Linked DNA regions of Homo sapiens: region 2 is linked to region 1. Evidence: promoter capture Hi-C in 16 types of primary human blood cells and fetal thymus (Javierre and others, 2016). All regions are on one chromosome and are shown on one strand. Each heading gives the region's core, a stretch centred on a gene start or on the middle of the fragment in contact. The rest is flanking DNA. Distances are from core to core; before and after follow the strand shown. Region 1 holds the start of INPP5E (inositol polyphosphate-5-phosphatase E). Region 2 holds the start of LCN6 (lipocalin 6).

Region 1 (2,922 bases), core at 303-2,802:
ATCGTATACATTGACGACATTTCCCAAGACTAAACAAGAAAAAGCGCCAGATACGTAATTGTATGCAGGATGCCATCCTGTCTACCTTAACACAACGTCACGCCCACGAATGGTTCTGAAACGCACAGGAAAAGTTCTGGGAAGGGCGCTGCTGTGGGGTGGGGCTGGGAGATGGGGTGGCTGCGGGAGACCCGCTTCGTTCTTTCCGGTTAGGCATCTTAAACGCTGCTGATGGGAACGGTCTCACGAGGTTCCAGCAGCCTGAACACTACAACGAAGGCGGCGCGGGCGCTGCACCCGCCAGGCCCTCCCTACCTGCTGCGGACGTCCTTGCTGCGGATGGGCGCCAGGAGGCTGAAGGAGGATTTGGCCGAGCGAAGGGAACAGTCGTCGCAGGCCAGGGGGCTCCGCGGCCGGCCGGGGCCCAGGCTGCTGTGGGCCCGCACCAGGAGCGGCTGCGCGCGGAGCTTGTAGTCTGCAAGATCCGAGTCGACCTTGTTTGCTGTCCTCAGGGAGTCGGAGGCGATGTCCAGGCTCAGGGCAGGCGGTGGGCGCGGGGGCAGCAGGCTGGGCAGCCTGGGCGAGCTCCCCGCCACGGCGGCGTCTCTGTGCGGGAGGTTCGGGGAGCTGCTGGCCACCCCAGAGAGAGGGTTACCCCCCGAGGACGGGCTCCCTCTCTCACTGCTCAGGACCCCGCGGGACTTGGGGATTTCCTGCAAGGAGGTGCTCAGGCAGGGCGGGGAGCAGCTGTGGGCGGGGGCCCCGGGGCCCTCGCTCTGCACTGAGCCCCTGGAGGGACTGGTCCCATTCCGGGCTTCCAGGTCCTCCTGGCTGCCTCGAAAACGCCTCCTCCTCCAGCCCTTGTCGTCCAGGGACAGGGCTCGCTCCAGTCGAGGCCTGGCGGGGGGCCGCGGGGCGATGGGTGCTGCTCGGGCTGGCGGGTCCTCGCCGCTGGGCGTGGCCGGAGTGCTGCAGGCAAGCGCGGGGCTCTCGGAGCCCGGAGCATCGGGTGGGGACCCCGCGCGCTGGGCCGGCGGAGCGCCGGGAAGCTGTCCTTGGAGCGTCCTCCCTTCCGGCGGCTGCGGGGCCGGCTCGGAGGGCCGCAGATTCTCCGCCTTGGACGGCATGGACGGTCTCTCCCGGGGCAGGCCTCGGCGCGAGGCCGCAGGCAGCGCGAGGGGTCACGGGTGCCGGGTCCGGGGTCGCCGGCGCAGCGAGGAGCAGAAACGCCGCTGCGGCTCCCGCTTGGGCCGGGGATGGTCGCGGAGGGGCGGGGGCGGCTGCCGCATGGCCCGGGCCCCGAGTCCCGCCAGCCCCTCGGGGCTCCCAGACGCCGTTCCCAGGGCGGTCCGCAGGCAAGGCCTGGGGGAACAGGCGGCTGGGCGCCTGTCGCGGGGGAGGTTCGACCCCGACGGGGACGCCGCTCGGGGAGAGGGGTGGGAAGCGGGCACCCCTGGCTGGGCTCGCAGACTCCGAAGTCGACCCGGTACTCGCGGAGGCCCGGCCGCCCAGAAGCGGAGTCAGCCCGGCCGGGACCCAGCAACCGCCGCCGCGGGGCCGCGCCCGGTCCCCGCCCCGCGCCCCGGCCCCGCCCACAGCGGCCCCTGGCGGCCGGAGGACTGCGCCGCACCGGACCCGGACGGGTCTCCCACGCCCCTCCCAACCCGGCAGCCCCGCAGTCCGGCAGGTCCCAGCGAGGCAGGTGCAGGTCCCCGGAGAGGACCTGGGTGCGGTCCAGGACAGCGCCGAGGCCTGCGGACACCTGCACTCACTCGCTTCCAGCAAACCAAAGGGAACCACAGGTGAAGGTGCTTGAAGGAGCGCAAAATATTTTATTCAACAATTTGCAATGTAACAATTCTCATTTAGGAAAAATAGCCGCTCCCGCCTGGAGGAAGCTTCTTGAATCAAAAGTCGTGGCAGTCGACCCCAGAACAGCGGGCAGAGCCGACCGGAAGAGGTCCCAGGATTCACACGAGCTGACCGAGGGACAGAGAGGGCTGCCCCGTCACAGGGACTGGCCTTTCTCCAAGTGACAAGGACAAATGGATCCAGCGGGACACGCCTGTGGAACATTTTGGAAAACATCCTGGGTGGTCTGGGCTAAATGATCAAGTGAAACAGAAAGCCAGGAAGGATCTGTGCTAATTCCACATTCTACAATTTCTACACTTAAATTTAAAACACCAAACAGTTTGTATTCCTCCAGCAGAACCTACAGAAATTATCTACTGATTTTTATTAGTATTTAAATCTTTTCTTCAGTCTCTTTAGACTTGACAAGAATACGAAGAGTTTCAGAACAGTCAGAGAAGCCTTAAAGCTTTGCATCAGTGAGAGGAGGCCCGTCTCTGAGTTGAACAGGGTTGAGTCCACCAGGAGCTACTCAAAGTCTCAGTGTGGCAAAACTCGGGGCAGAAATACTAAGTTCCAGAGCTGCTGTCAAGAAACTGTGTTAAGATACTCTCCCCAAGTGCTACCAACCTCTGAACCAACGTCCCCCAGGGGAGAAAGTGGGTCATGTGGATTGTACCACGAAAAGTGCTCACGGAAAGTGCAGCCTTTTAGAGAAGTGCATCCAGCTTCCTTAACAGTGAGTCTAACCGTGCTCCTACACACGAAATGAAGCCCAAATCAAACATCACACGGTCAGTTTTCAACCTGGATGACCACCCTGAGCCATCATGTCAGACAGCCGGCTCTCTGGGGCTCCTTCCCAGTGACTGGGCCACACGGTGGGCAGTCCCCAGCGCTTTGGGTACACAAAATCACCCATGGTCCTCATCAGGCCACAGAAAGTAAAGTGAGGCTGGAAGCGTCTTTGCAACAGGAAAGAAATTCACTGCAGTAACTAAGGCCTCTCTCAAAAACCGTGAACTAATGCCGAAGGAACCCCACGGCTCCTCGGAGGCGCTGATTGAG
Region 2 (2,710 bases), core at 107-2,606, 310 kb after region 1:
GAGCATAGTCAGAGCAGTGCCCGCCGCGGTATTGAAGGTGGGAGTGCCACCTGGAGGCCCCAGGGACACAGATGTGAGTAGCTGGGCAGAGGGCTGGTGGCTCTGCACAGAGCCCAGTGGGAAAAGTGACGGGGGTGCAGAGGGGCCGTGGGAAGCCCCCAGGCCGCGGTGCCCGGGAGCAGATGTGCAAAGTACATGATGTGGCTGAGCCACAGTCCTGCCTGCGGGAAGGCCTGGCAGGACCCGCCCACTCACCCGTGCTGAGAGGACAGCGTCCGCAGGTTGTTTTCTGGAGTGAGGGTCACCACCACCCCCACGACGTTCTTCATGTCCTTCTCCATGGCAAAGCCCTTTTCCCGGGAGGCCACCGCAAGCACGTACCAGGGCCCAAGAAGCTGCATTGAGGCGGCTCCCGTTAGGGCCGCCAGCCCTCCAGCCTCCAGCCTCCAGCCTCCAACCCTCCAGCCTCAGCCTCCAGCCTCCAAACCTCCAGCCTCAGCCTCCACCCTCCAACCATCCAGCCCTCCAGCCTCCAGCCTCCAACCCTCCAGCCTCCAGCCTTCCAGCCCTGCAGCCTCCAGCCTCCACCCTCCAACCATCCAGCCCTCCAGCCTCCAGTCTCCAACCCTCCCGCCCTCCAGCCTCCAACCTTCCAGCCTTGCAGCCTCTAGCCTTCAGTTCTCCAGCCCTCCAGCCTCCAGCTTCCAACCCCCCAGACCTCCAACCCTCCAGCCTCCAGCCTTCCAGCCCTACAGCCTCTAGGCTCCAGCCCTCCAGCCTTCCAACCTCCAGCCTGCAGCCCTGCAGCCTCTAGTCTCCAGCTCTCCAGCCCTCCAGCCTCCAGTTCTGCAGCCCTCCAGCCTCCAGCCCTCCAGCCTCCAGTTCTACAGCCCTCCAGCCTCCAGCCCAGCAGCCTCCAGCCTCCAGTTCTCCAGCCCTACAGCCTCCAGCCCTCCAGCCTCCAGTTCTCCAACCCTACACCCTCCAGCCCTGCAACCTCCAGTCTCCAGCCTCCAATTCTCCAGCCCTCCAGCCTCCAACCCTCCAGCATCCACCCCTCCTGCCCTGAGGCTCCTGCCTGTGGGACTCCCCAAGGGCTGGCCCAACTAATTCCCCACTGCTCATGCTGGTCTGGGCTAGCCCTGGGGGGCCCAGAAGCTGTGTGGCCTTAAAGGAGGGGCTGGCCCCCGAGGACCAGCTCTCCCCACCCCCAGGAGGACTGTACCTGCTCAGGGTCCAGTCTTCCCAACCACACGGCCTGGGCCCTGGGCACCGAGACCAAAGCCAGAAAAGCAGCCAGCAGCAGGCCGCCCATCCTCCCAGGTCTACACTGCGCCGCAGGCCCAGGATGTGCAGTCCCTCCAGGCCCTGGAGACCCGTTTATATGGCTCTGAATTTCTCCGTGTGGGTGGCACTAACTGCCAGGAACCCTCCTGGCCTCCTGCAAAATTACCCAGGGGAGCACTGAGCAGTGGCAGCCTCTGAGCCCAGATCAGACCAGCTGCACAGCCAGGAGAGGGTCTGGAGTGTGTGGATCAACCATACTATACTGATCCCCTGCTTTCTTCCACCAGAAGGTTCCAGAATGGGCATCCTAAAGCCAGCCGCACCACCTCCCCCGTTCCTGGGGACCCACGCTCTCCCTCGCCCAGCCTGGGAAGCAGGGAGACTGCTGTCCGCTGCCAGGCCCGGCAGGAGGCCAAGGTCAAGCCCAAGGAGAGGAACCAGGGCGAGAACAAGTGGTTCTCAGGAACTGCGGTTTTGGATATCTTTTGTTTCAATCATTAAATATAAAAAGTCCCTGAAAGCCTTTTGAAAAAGGCTCCCACCTCCTCCTGGCCCACCCACCATTCTGCTTTGTGGCCTGGCCTCTGTCCCCCACAGCCAGCACCCCCAGAACAGACTGTCCTGTTCCTTCCACCTCTGCAGCCCACCATCCGGCCCTGCTGCCTCCTGCCTCCCCTCCCTGGGACCCTGGCCTGCTTGTGCCTCCCAAGGCCCCTTGAGAGCTCTCTGCAGCCCCAGTCCGGGAGCAGAGGACAGAGGTGCTCGGCAGGGTCTATCTGAGCCCCTGAAGCCCACTGGGAGGCAGCCGGGAGGGTCCTCCCCCAGTGCCGTGGCCTGCACCCTCTGGGATTCACTCCCACACACCTTCGCTCATTCATCAACAAGGGTGCAAGGAGCACGTCCATGCAACAAGGCTCCAGTGCCCAGGGCCGCCTGCACTCACAGAGCTTATGCTGCAGCCCTGGCCACCTGCCCTGTACCCACGCAGCAGGGCCTGTGACCACCAGAGTGCAGGAGGAAGGCAGAAACCACACAGCTACTGGGGGCTGGGCCTGCGAAGACTGACCGGGCAGTGGGGCCACGGAGGTGCCAGCCACAGCCATGGCAAGCAGGAGTTGCCCAGGGGCTGAGCCACAGAACAAGGGAGCGGGACACTTAGGCCTGGAGCCTTCAGGAGGGAGCCGTGGCTGCTCGCGGTAATCCCAGCACTTCAGGAGGCTGAGGCGGGAGGATCACTTGAGTCCAGGAGTTTGAGACCAGCCTGGGCGACATAGCAAGACTTCGTCTCTACAAGCAAGTTTAAAAATTAGCTGGACATGGTGGCGTGCTCCTGTAGTCCCAGCTACTCAGGAAGCTGAGGTAGGAGGATTGCTTGAGCCCAGGAGGTTGAGGCTGCAGTGAGCTGTGATCGTGCCACTCCTCT

Evidence for each region. Contacts are between HindIII fragments. The CHiCAGO score rates a contact against its expected background, and 5 or more counts as called.
Region 2: the fragment with the promoter of LCN6 here is called in contact with the fragment with the promoter of INPP5E in region 1 in 7 of 17 cell types (monocytes, M1 macrophages, megakaryocytes and 4 more); the score reaches 7.8 in monocytes.

What each region holds. Positions count from the first base shown.
Region 1 is chr9:136,438,293-136,441,214 of GRCh38, forward strand. INPP5E (inositol polyphosphate-5-phosphatase E) reads right to left here and starts at 1,553. Exons shown (of 10, transcript NM_019892.6): 1 at 316-1,553. The coding sequence starts at 1,127. SEC16A (SEC16 homolog A, endoplasmic reticulum export factor) reads right to left here. Exons shown (of 32, transcript NM_014866.2): 32 at 1,813-2,922. RefSeq lists enhancers at 1-390, 332-441, 391-1,025, 1,026-1,659 and silencers at 732-1,221, 1,282-1,461, 1,512-1,711. The HindIII fragment of the contact is 4,062 bases long and covers 1-1,896 here.
Region 2 is chr9:136,747,169-136,749,878 of GRCh38, forward strand. It overlaps LCN6 (lipocalin 6), which reads right to left and starts at 1,357. Exons shown (of 7, transcript NM_198946.3): 1 at 1,226-1,357; 2 at 256-395. The coding sequence starts at 1,315. It overlaps LOC100128593 (a long non-coding RNA gene), which reads left to right. Exons shown (of 3, transcript NR_033913.1): 2 at 1-1,404; 3 at 1,578-2,710. The HindIII fragment of the contact is 9,973 bases long and covers 1-2,710 here.